Regions from separate parts of the Homo sapiens genome. Here region 2 is linked to region 1. Evidence: promoter capture Hi-C in human tissues and cell types (Jung and others, 2019). All regions are on one chromosome and are shown on one strand. Each heading gives the region's core, a stretch centred on a gene start or on the middle of the fragment in contact. The rest is flanking DNA. Distances are from core to core; before and after follow the strand shown.

What was found. The method cuts DNA at HindIII sites, captures the fragments that hold promoters and counts their contacts. A contact is called where the count stands out against the background at its distance.
Region 2: a contact is called between a fragment that was not itself captured here and the fragment with the promoter of HCRTR2 in region 1, in 2 of the 25 tissues and cell types used here (stomach and thymus).

The regions. Positions count from the first base shown.
Region 1 is chr6:55,169,984-55,176,298 of GRCh38, forward strand. HCRTR2 (hypocretin receptor 2) reads left to right here and starts at 4,532. Exons shown (of 7, transcript NM_001384272.1): 1 at 4,532-4,827. The coding sequence starts at 4,605. The HindIII fragment of the contact is 12,053 bases long and covers 1-6,315 here.
Region 2 is chr6:54,879,955-54,886,110 of GRCh38, forward strand. All of the region lies in intron 2 of FAM83B (family with sequence similarity 83 member B), which reads left to right. Among named protein-coding and RNA genes, the nearest start is that of FAM83B, 36 kb to the left of the region's middle. The HindIII fragment of the contact is 8,757 bases long and covers 1-6,156 here.

The sequences.
Region 1 (6,315 bases), core at 3,282-5,781:
TAAGAAAATATAATCTGGGACAGCCCATATATGAGATCTCTAAACAACCTACCTATAACCACCAAGAAAAAAAAATACCTGAGTTTGAGATTTATTTTTCCGTCTCATTTTTAATATATTCCAGTTAGTGAAAGAGCTAAAATAAATGACAAGAAAAATTTAATCTAGGTATTTAAACAGAATTATTCTGAATGTTGTGAGCTACATTTCTTTTTTACCTTTTATTTATACATAGTATTTGTATATACTTATACAATATATTTATTTTGTATATATAAATATATTGTATTTATTTATACATGTAAATGTATAATATATTTATTTATACATAGTATTTATATATACATAGTATTTGTATATATTTATAGGGTACATGTAATATTTTGTTACACGCATAGAATGTGTAATGGTCAAGCCAGAATATTTAGAGTATCCATTACCTTAAGTATTTATTATTTCTCTGTGCTAGGAGCATGTTAAGTCCTCTCTTTTAGCTATTTTGAAATGTACATTGATGTTAACTATCATTAACACAGAGTAATTGATATGTATAGCAAATAATATTTGCAGTAGGATATCACATGTTTACTTATTTATTTATTTATTTATTTTTATTATACTTTAAGTTCTAGGGTACATGTGCACAACGTGCAGGTTTGTTACATATGTATGCATGCGCCATGTTGGTGTGCTGCACCCATTAACTCCTCATTTACATTAGGTATATCTCCTAATGCTATCCCTCCCCCCTCCCCCACCCCACGACAGGTTCCAGTGTGTGATGTTCCCCTTCCTGTGTCCAGGTGTTCTCATTGTTTAATTCCCACCTATGAGTGAGAACATACGGTGTTTGGTTTTTTGTCCTTGCGATAGTTTGCTGAGAATCATGGTTTCCAGCTTCATCCATGTCTCTGCAAAGGACATGAACTCATCCTTTTTTTGGCTGCATAGTATTCCATGGTGTATATGTGCCATATTTTCTTAATCCAGTCTATCATTGTTGGACATTTGGGTTGGTTCCAAGTCTTTGCTATTGTGAATAGTGCCGCAATAAACATATGTGTGCATGTGTCTTTATAGCAGCATGATTTATAATCCTTTGTGTATATACCCAGTAATGGGATGGCTGGGTCAAATGGTATTTCTAGTTCTAGATCCTTGAGGAATTGCCACACTCTCTTCCACAATGATTGAACTAGTTTACACTCCCACCAACAGTGCAAAAGTGTTCCTATTTCTCCACATCCTCTCCAGCACCTGTTGTTTCCTGACTTTTTAATGATCGCCATTCTAACTGGAGTGAGGCACTGGTCTGAAAATATCAATTCATTTAATTCTTTTAACAACCTTAAGGGGATATCATGGTACAAATTTAGAGCTTTCTTTTGTGTTTGTAAAATGGATTGATTCCTTTTCCCTACATCCAGCAGAAATATTTGAATTGAAGAGAAGAGTAATACCTAAGAACTAGAAATTCCTTTCTTATGTTTCAAAAGATATCAAAAGATCTAAGGAAGATATTCACATCAAAAATGAGTATTATAATATTTATTATCTATGGTGCACTTGCAAAAAAGAAAACAAGTAATAATCTGAAGATTTAAGTGAATATTTTATGACATTGGAGTACCACATATTTAGAAGAAAGCACCAGAGAAATCATAGATAGAAGGAAATGGAATATTTGTAGGATCAAGATAAATACAGCTTGTCATAAAATAAAGCAGGTATCAGGATAAAATCTTGAAAATATTTTCATTTCTCGTTATTTATAACTTCAATTTACTGTGATGATTAATTGTAGGTGGAAGATTTACGAAGAGAAGACTGAAGTATAGACAAGTTGAAGTGCCACAAAATGAAAGCTAATGACACTGACTACTTAGGAAATAGCAGACTGGGTCCATATTTATAGATTGTCAATGACAAGGAATTTGCAGATGTTAATGAATATAGATCCGAACTTAAGTTGCAACAACCTTTCCCACTTTGAGATGAATAGTGCATGGAAGAGTAAAATGCAGATGTTAATAAATCAGAGGAAGACATCGTGCCAGAGTATAAAGTTGACAGATTTATGCCGATGAACTTGAACAAAGCCACAGAAGGCCTACTTGTCAAATTTACTGGTGACAACAGGTCTGGAGAAATGGCTAATGTTTTGGATAATAGCATTAGAATTTAAGGTCTGTTTAAACTTCAAATTAACAGAATGAAATTAATATATGCACATATCAATTGGGTCTTTTGCTTATATATCATCTCTTAATAGAGCCTTTTTGAACAATCATTTCTAATGTGACCTTTGGGATTTTCTACTCATCATCACCTCATCCTGTTTGGTTTGCATTATAGCATCTATCCCTTCCTAACGTTTTCCCTATGTATTTGTTAGTTTGTTTTTTTTTAATCTAACTTTACTAGAAAGTAAAATGCATGGAAACAGCAACCTGTTTAACTTTGTATCACTAAGAGTGGAAAAATAACCCTCAGGAAATATTTGGTAAAATAATAAAATGCCCATTGATGCCCTTCTCTTAAAAAGAAATTTAATTAGTGCAGATTGGGGAAATACAACAATATTTCTCATAAAATGTGATATCTATACAATAACAGAAGTACTATGTCCCAAAAAGTATTCTATAAATAGAAGAAAGAACAGATGGTTTTGCTGCTGATTAATCCATTTATCTTTCGTAAATCATCTAATTTCCCCAGGAACAGCTTCCTCATCTATTAAAGGGGGTTAGTAATAGCTAAGCCCTCAGGGGTTTAAAAATGCATATGAAATAATTTTATAAACCATAAAGCACAAAACAAATATGAAAAATTATGATTGGAGGAGGGGGTGGGGTAGTTAACTAAATCTCAGTGTAAACCACCAATGTCTTGTGTGTGTTGAAAAAATAATTACATATAAAAACTGGTTGCATCCAAAGAATAATGTACTTTTTGCACTGGCAAGACTCAAACCATATTATTGTTACTTCCTCCCAGTTACATATTTTGCAAGATATTGACAATTGTCTAAAGGAAGACCAAACAGATGTAGGTGGGAGCTACTGTCATTTGAACAACATTGAAAAGAAAAATACTAAAAAAGAAACATGAGGGCATATAAAGGAGCGCTGGGGCTGTGATGTTTATTTTGAATCTGTGAAGCATTGTCATGTGGAAGATTTATTCTGTGTAGCACCAAGATGCAAACTAGGAATTAGAGGTAAAAGTCTCAAAAAGACAAATCGTGGCTTGAGACCTTGGTTTAATGTAAGAAACAGTTTTCTCACCCTTAGAGCACTCCCATAAGGATGGAAGTAGTGAATTGTGGTGGTCACATTCAAGCTAGATGGGGACATGTCAGCAATGTTATCAGGAGGCTTCTACTCTGAAGCTGAAGTTCAGACAAGATTTCCAGGCTCTTCCCAAGTGCAAGATTGTAATTACTTAAATGCAATATTTTTACCATGTTTATTAAGAATAAAAGGATCATGAATTCACATTCTGACAAATGCTAGAATACTTATTATTAGAGACAAAACCAGTGCATGAGAGAATGGCAGGTGACATCAGCCCTGAATCAATGGGAAGAAAGACCCAATGGGATGTGGTATTTACCAGAGAGAGCACTTCTGCTTAGATTGCTACATCCTACAGTGAATGTTTAATATCATTGAGTATATTGGTGGTCTGTCATGCTTGACAACATTAACTATGATCATATTTATGACACTTGGCGTCCTTCAAGAATTTGTAGCTCTATTTCACATGACACTTAACTATCGCAAATACAAATTCCAGCTAAATAGACCCTTCAGTTTAAAAACAGTCTCATTCTCAAATTTTAAGGAGAAAGTGAAGACGGAGATGTCTTAAAGACTCGGCAAGTACTAAGTTGGCAAATGTCAAATGTTAAAATAAGTTTATATTAAATGTTAAAGTGTTTGCCTGGAATGACTTTTCCATTGTCCTGCTTGAGAAACACAGAGGCACCTCCTTATTGCTTTTATATTTGCTTTACAAAGACAAATGTATCAACATGCTCTGTATTAATTGTATGTTGACATTTTTGTCATATCCACAGACTGATGCATGTCTGTGCATGGTTTATAATAAGTGCACGTAAAAATAGAGAAAATAAGTAGAAAAAGAGAGAGATTTAACTCTCACCCCCCACCCCCCAAAAAAACAGATTAAATTAGTTTTCATTACTTTTTTTTTTTTCTTCAGCTTCAGCTCTCCCTCAGCGAGGGAGGAGGCTGTGGGCTGCGGACTGAGTGCTGGAATGAGGAGTAATTGAGCTTCAGCTGAGCCGGACGTAGCTTTCTCCTCCTGGTGTCATTGCTGCAGCCTCCAGTGCCGGGTCCCTAGTTCCTCAGCTGCCTATCTTCCCGGTGCAACATCGCCTGTAAAGACAGCAAAGCCACCGCAGAAGTTGCCCGGCAGAAGACTCCGGAGGCATTGGCTCAGTAACTTTTCACGTCATTTTCTGCTCGGGAGCCCCTTCTAGCCTCTCCGCGCAGCCTTTCCCACCGCAAATCACCAGTGCTCATGGGGCAGGCGGAGAGGAGCTTGCAGCATTGAGCGGAACCGGACTTGAGCCCGTGATGTCCGGCACCAAATTGGAGGACTCCCCCCCTTGTCGCAACTGGTCATCTGCTTCGGAGCTGAATGAAACTCAAGAGCCCTTTTTAAACCCCACCGACTATGACGACGAGGAATTCCTGCGGTACCTGTGGAGGGAATACCTGCACCCGAAAGAATATGAGTGGGTCCTGATCGCCGGGTACATCATCGTGTTCGTCGTGGCTCTCATTGGGAACGTCCTGGGTGAGTCTCCTCCCGGGCAGCCCTCCTAGGGGCTATCACCCCCTCTCCGCCCCGGGCTGAGAAGGCTCTAAAGAGACCCCTCCCTCCCCCGGGAAGCAAACAAAGAGGTCGCTGCTCTCGGATGGGGTTTTCTAATAAAATAATAATAATAATAGAAAGTTTTCTGATTTTCCGAACCGGGACCGAGCCCTGGAAAGGTTATTCCCTGTTTTGCAGGAATAACGGGGAAACCGCGTTTCTTTTTCGAGCACCTAGATTACAAGCGCAGGGAGAGGGGCCGCGGCAGGGATCTCCAGGTGGATTTTGTTGAGTGTGTGTGTGTGTGGGTGGGTAGGTGGGGGAGTCAGTCATCCCTTTGTGTAACGTGGCTGGGTGTTTCAGGGGGGTTGGGACGAGACAGAGCTTGCAGAATACAAAGCTACATCCCTAAGGAGCAAGCTCTCTGTGGCTGTGGAAGTCACAAAGCATTTGTGAGCTAGGTGGCATTGCCCTTTGGCGAGGAGGTTTAGTCTCCAGTCAAGAGGTGGTAATGAACCAGCAGGGAGTGGAGACGGAGGCAAAGCAGGGAAGTGCACTCACTCATAGAAGCTGAATTAAACAGGATCCATGCCTGGAGCAAGAAGGAGGGGCATCGGAGAAAAGTACCACAGAGATCTCAATCATCCATCCATCCATTCATTCTTACATCCATTCAGCCAAATATTTTTTTTTTTCAGTCTGCTTGTTGCCAGGCTCAGGAATTATTCATGTCAACTGTTTGTTGTTGTTTTGTTTTGTTTTGTTTTCTCCAAAGATGAGACTAAGCTTAATGCTAGGCTATTTGTCCCGGTCTAGGTCTGTATGCAAACACGGGTTTCCTCGACCCCTCATCCCCCTCCCCCTAAACAATTTCTGAGGGTTGGGGAGGGGGTGAGATGGCAACATGGTGAGTGCGATGATGGAATGTATTAGGGCAGTTGGGGAATATACCTCCAGAAAAGGGGCTTTGGAAGGGAGGGATAACTTGAAATAAATTGTGAATGGAAGGAGAGTGTACCTTGATGAATGAAGAGTAGAAGGCTGGGAGACTTTTCACATGCAGAGGGCAGTGTGGAGGAAGTCTCTGCTGAAAATGACAGGAGATGGAGGAGGCTAGGAGTTGCTCTTGATTTTCATTTATAAAAGAAGAAGAAGGTGAGTGAGGTGAGATAGGCTGGGAGGCTTTGCAGTCAAAAGCAAAGAACTTGTAGCTGCAATGGGGACTGACAAGGAAATTATCAGGCTTTCAGACTAACCTGATTTTTGCCTTCTCTCCCAAGTGTGTTGGTCTGGGTAGAAATCATCCCGAGTAGTCTCTCACCAACTCAGCAGGCAGAATAGATGATAGTATGTGAATGACAGGAGTTCTCCAGAGTGTTGGTAGAATGTTATTTGAGGAGACAAGAAACCTCTGAGAACTTTAGTACATTTTTAAATATTATTTTTAGACTGTTTTCCTTTGGTTGATTT
Region 2 (6,156 bases), core at 1,089-3,588, 290 kb before region 1:
ACTTAATTCTGAATCTTAAGGAAAGTCCTTTTTTGTTTTAAAGCTATTTTTAAGATGTCTTAATCATCTGATTTTAAGCTAATAAAATTTATTTCTGTACAAAAAAAGTTTTAACAATCTACATATAGTTTAAGTCTACCTATGCTTATTGAGTCCCAGCTATGTGCAAGGCACTCTGCTAATTCATACAGATGGGGGGAAAAGCCCACTTCAAGTGATTTAAAGTCTAATATTTGAGGGATATGGTAAAAGATTCATAGGAAATATATAGGTAAAATCATGTGTGCTTATGGGCATCACCCGAATGATCTCTGTGTTATATGGGATCTGGATTTTTTTCCACCTGTTTACTCTTTAAGTATCAGGATTATAGAGACAATTATTGAAATTTTAAAGTAGCAAAAATATGATACAGATAAAATACCTCCAAAATATTTATTAGCAAATATGTTTTACTAGTGCGACAAATGTATATATAGAAGGTTTCTTTTTTTTTTTTTTTTTTTTTGAGACGGAGTCTCGCTTTGTTGCCCAGCCTGGAGTGCAGTGGCATGATCTCGGCTCACTGCCACCTCTGCCTCTCAGGTTCAAGTGATTCTCCTGCCTCAGCCTCCTGAGTAGCTGGGATTACAGGTGTGCGCCACCATGCCTTGCTAATTTTTGTATTTTTAATAGAGACAGGGTTTCACCATGTTGGTCAGGCTGATCTCAAACTCCTGACCTCGTGATCTGTCCGCCTCGGCCTCCCCAGGTGCTGGGATTAAAGGTGTGAGCCACTGCGCCCAGTCGAAGGTTTATTTTTTATTATTAGGGTACATACATTCCTTATAGTCAATATGGAAAAATTCAAGAAAGGGTTAAGAAAAGGCAATCATAATCTCCCAGTAGAGATAATCACTGCTATTGATGTTAGAAATTTTCTTACCTATTAAATAAATAGAGACATACATGTATACACAAGTGAATGTGTATGTGTTTTGATATCTTATATAAATCCCTGAAATAGAAGATTCAGATGTGTTATATTTGAGATCATATGTTGTATAATATTTTTAAAGTTGCCTCCTGTCTTTTTTCACTTAGGATTTTTCTTACAATAAAATAATTGGTTTCTTGTACTGAAATGCAATGGCATAACAAAATAGGGGACAGTGGGAGCTGCTGTGTCTCCCACAGAATTTAAAAACACTAAGATTGACTAGATGGCAGTCTGCTTTTGAGAGCATGTGCTGACAATTGTAAATAATATTAGTGATAATATACTCCTTCATTACTGCCACCTCCACCCATTTCTTACTCATCCCTCTACCTCTTAGCATACCAGTGCTGATATGGTGAGAGTCTCATGGTAATATTCCTTCAGAAATGAAGAAAGCCTCATAACTGTTTCTGTGTAATCATCAGTAAGAAAAATTGGTAACTGTACATTTTCTTTTGAAAATGAGAACTTTCCTTTGGGCTGTATTAATTTCATATTAATAATCACATTTTGAATTTTTTTCTTCCTTGAACTCAAACACAGGCAATAAATAAACATGAAAGGGAAAACATTGTCATTTGGCTAAATATCAATCCAATATACGCTGCTGAAAAAAATCTATAATCATAAAAAAAACTGAGTCATAGTAGTCATATTTCAACCTGCTGAATTCTGGAGCAGTTACTGAAAAAAAAATAAAATCTGAGGTTTGTGATCATGTAGTCTTTTTACAATTGGGCAATGAGAAATTGAGAAAGTCCAAAGTCACCCATTTGGTGACCATAAGGACTGACAGCACTCAGGCATCTGGGCTTCTATTCTTTTTTATTTATTTATTTTTATTATTTTACTTTAAGTTCTAGGGACTTGTGCACAACGTGCAGGTTTGTTACATATGTATACATGTGCCATGTTGGTGTGCTGCACCCGTTAACTGGTCATTTACATTAGGCATATCTCCTAATGCTATCCCTCCCCCTTCCCCCTGCCGCACGGCAGGCCCCAGTGTGTGATGTTCCCCACCCTGTGTCCCTGTGTTCTCATTGTTCAATTCCCACCTATGAGTGAGAACATGCGGTGTCTGGTTTTCTGTCCTTGTGATAGTTTGCTGAGAATGATGGTTTCCAGCTTCATCCATGTCCCTGCAAAGGACATGAACTCATCCTTTTTTATGGCTGCATAGTATTCCATGGTGTATATGTGCCACATTTTCTTAATCCAGTCTATCACTGTTGGACATTTGGGTTGGTTCCAAGTCTTTGCTATTGTGCATAGTGCATCTGGACTTCTATTCTATGATTATTGTATCATGTTGCTTCTCTAGTGGGTAGGAGAAATACATTTGTTAATGACACCAGTAACAGCTAATGTTTAATGCTATGTGCCAGGCAGTGTTTGAAGCATTTTATATATACTGATGTATTAACACATTTATCTTCACAACAGTTCTCTAACGTAGATACCTTTATTGCCCTTTTTTTAGAGGTGAGGAATAAAAAAATAATTTTTTCTAGGCTTCAGAAGTAGAAAATGACAGGTCTGGTATTTGAGCCTGGGTCATGGGCTCAGACAGACCCTGCTTGGGCTTACCATTATGGTGTATTACCTCTGATAGACCACTCCAGGCAGGCTCCATGCAAACCAGCTGAACATTCACAACCATGCTTTTGTTCCAGTATTATTGCATTTGATTCCTGGTTATCTGCCACATGGACTCCAACTCATAAGCATGGAGTATATGATGAGGCTTTGTGCTTTATCTCCTGCCTCCCTCAATTACTTCCACTCCAGGGCTACTGGACCTGTTCTGGGCCTTCCACTGCAGAAGTATTCCTTCCTGCTTTTGTTCATGATTATTTACCTACTTGGAGCATTCTTTCCCAACTTTTTGCCTCCAATTCATCTTTTAAAATCCATGTTAAATTATACTTGTTTGGGAAAGCTTTGTTTGATTCCCTTACCAGACTTCAGTTAGTCATCCTCTATATTATTGTCACTTTATTTTTTTATTATTTATTTATTTATTTTGAGATGGAGTCTCGCTCTGTCACCCAGGCCGGAGTGCAGTGGCGCGATCTCAGCTCACTGCAAGCTCCGCCTCCCGGGAGCTTCTCCTGCCTCAGCCTCCTGAGTAGCTGGGACTACAGGCACCCACCACCACGCCCGGCTAATTTTTTTGTTTTTGTATTTTTAGTAGAGACTGGTTTCACCGTGTTAGCCAGGATGGTCTCTATCTCCTGACCTTGTGATCCGCCCACCTTGGCCTCCCAAAGTGCTGGGATTACAGGCGTGAGCCACCATGCCTAGCCATTATTGTCATTTTATACCTGTTCTTTAAGATGAGATATATTCTTCATTTTCTCATAGGACCCATGATTTTTTAGTGATTTTTTTTTAAGTTTTTTTTTTTTTTTTTTTGAGATGGAGTTTCACTCTTGTTGCCCAGGCTGGAGTGCAATGGGGCAATCTTGGCTCAACGCAACCTCCGCCTCCCAGGTTCAAGTGATTCTCCTGCCTCAACCTCCCGAGTAGCTGGGATTACAGGCATGTACCACCATGCCTGGCTAATTTTTTGTATTTTTAGTAGAGACGGGGGTTCTCCATGTTGGTCAGGCTGGTCTCGAACTCTCAACCTCAGGTGATCTGCCCTCCTTGGCCTCCCAAAGTGCTGGGATTACAGGCGTGAGCCACCGCACCTGGCCGATTGTTTAAAACTAGGTTATTTTTCTTTTTAAATTTATTTGAAATAATTTTTTATGCTGTGTATGAATTATTTGTCAGACACATGTTGCAAATATTTTCTATAGCTTAGTTGTTCACTCTGATAATGGTTTTTTTTTTTGGATTAACAGGAGTTCTTAATTTATAGAAATTCTTAATCTCAGTGTAGCCCAATTTTTTAATCTTTTATTTTAAGGTTAGCTATTTTTGTGTTCTATCAAAGAAATACTTGCAGCTGAGTGCAGTGGCTCATGCCTGTAATCCCAGGACTTTGGGAGGCCGAGGCGGGCAGATCACTTGAGGCCAGGAGTTCATGACCAGCCTGGCCAATATAGGGAAACCCTGTCTCTACTAAAAATGCAAAGAAGACCAGGCATGGTGACTCACGCCTTTAATCCCAGCACTGTGGGAGGCCAAGGTGGGCGGATCACGAGGTCAAGAGATCGAGAACATCCTGGCCAACATGGTGAAACTCCGTCTGTACAAAAAATACAAAAATTAGTTGGGCATGGTGGTGTGCGCCTGCAGTCCCAGCTATGCTGGAGGCTGAGGCAGGAGACTCGCTTGAATCTAGGAGGCGGAGGTTGCAGTGAGCTGAGATCGCGCCACTGCACTCCAGCCTGGTGACAGAGCAAGACCCCGTCTAAAAAAAAAAAAAAAAAAAGAGAAAAATAGAAAATGAGCTGGGTGTGTGGCGCATGCCTATGATCCCAGCTACTTGGGAGGCTGAGTCATGAGAATTGCTTGAACCTGGGGGGCGGAGGTTGTAGTGAGCCGAGACTGCGCCATTGCACTCCAGCCTGTGCAACAGAGTGAGACTCTGTCTCAAAAAAAAAAAAAAAAAAGAAATATTTGCCTTCCCCAATATCAAGAAGATGTTATCCTTAATTGACCTCTAGATGTTTTATTTTGTCTTTCATATGATGTGAGGCCAGGGTCCATTTTGATTTCCATATGAATATGCAGTTACTGCTGTGTCATAACTCAAGTGACCACTTACATATGGGTATATTTCTGGACTCTATTCTAATTCCATTGATTTACTTATCATTGCTGTGCCAAAACCACAGTGTCTTGGTTATTACTGTAAGCCTCTCCATTTGCTAGTGAGTCCTCCAGTATTTTTTTTTTTTTTTGAAACGGAGTCTAGCTCTGTCGCCCATGCTGGAGTGCAGTGGTGAGATCTGGGCTCACTGCAAGCTCCGCCTCCCGGGTTCACGCCATTCTCCTGCCTCAGCCTCTCGAGTAGCTGGGACTACAGGCGCCCGCCACCACGCCCGGCTAATTTTTTGTATTTTTAGTAGAGACGGGGTTTCACTGTGTTAGCCAGGATGGTCTTGATCTCCTGACCTCGTGATCTGCCCGCCTCGGCCTCCCAAAGTGCTGGGATTACAGGCGTGAGCCACTGCGCCCGGCCCAGTAACAATACTTTTTTCAGTATTGCCTTGGCTACTCTAAATCTTTTGCTTTTCTGTAGGAATTTTAGAATCATCTTGTCAACTTTCCAAAAAAAAAATAATGTTGGGATTTTGATTGGGATTTCACTGCATTTATAGAACAGTGTGAGTAGAGTTGAACCTTACAATATTGAGTCTTCTAATCCAGGAACAAGGTATATTCCTCTATTAAGTTATGTTTAATTTTGTTCTGTACAATTTTGTTGTTTTCTGTGTATAGGCCTCACATATCATTTGTTTGATTTATTCCTAATTATTTGTTATTTTTGATCCTGTTGGAAATATTTTAATTTTTTGTCTTAATTTTTTCTTTTTTACTAATATGGAAATATATTTTTTGTATATTGACATTGATTGGGTCCAGTGACTGGATTGATACCCTTATTAATTCCAATAGTTTTTATATAGATTATTTTGGATTTTCTAGATATATTATCTGTAAATAATGGTAGTTTTATTTTTCTCTTTTCCAACCCATATAACTTTCAAATCTTTTGACTGCCGTAATACCTTGGGTACGTGTTCCATTGCAATGTTTAACATAATGTTAAATGTAAACAATACTTGCTATACAAAACCATCATTCTCAGCAAACTATCGCAAGGACTAAAAACCAAACACCGCACGTTCTCACTCATAGGTGGGAACTGAAGAATGAGAACACATGGACACAGGAAGGGGAACATCACACACCGGGGACTGTTGTGGGACAGGGGGAGGGGGGAGGGATAGCATTAGGAGATATATCTAATGCTAAATGACGAGTTAATGGGTGCAGCACACCAGCATGGCACATGTATACATATGTAACAAACCCGCACGTTGTGCACATGTACCCTAAAACTTAAAGTATAATAATAATAATAATAATAATAAGTAACTGTCATATATAGGAAGTTCTATTCTTAAAGAGTTTTTATCATTTTATCATGTCATATGATTTTTCTCCTTTATTCTGGTAATATCTTAAGCTACATAAATTGATTTTTCTAGAAAGAT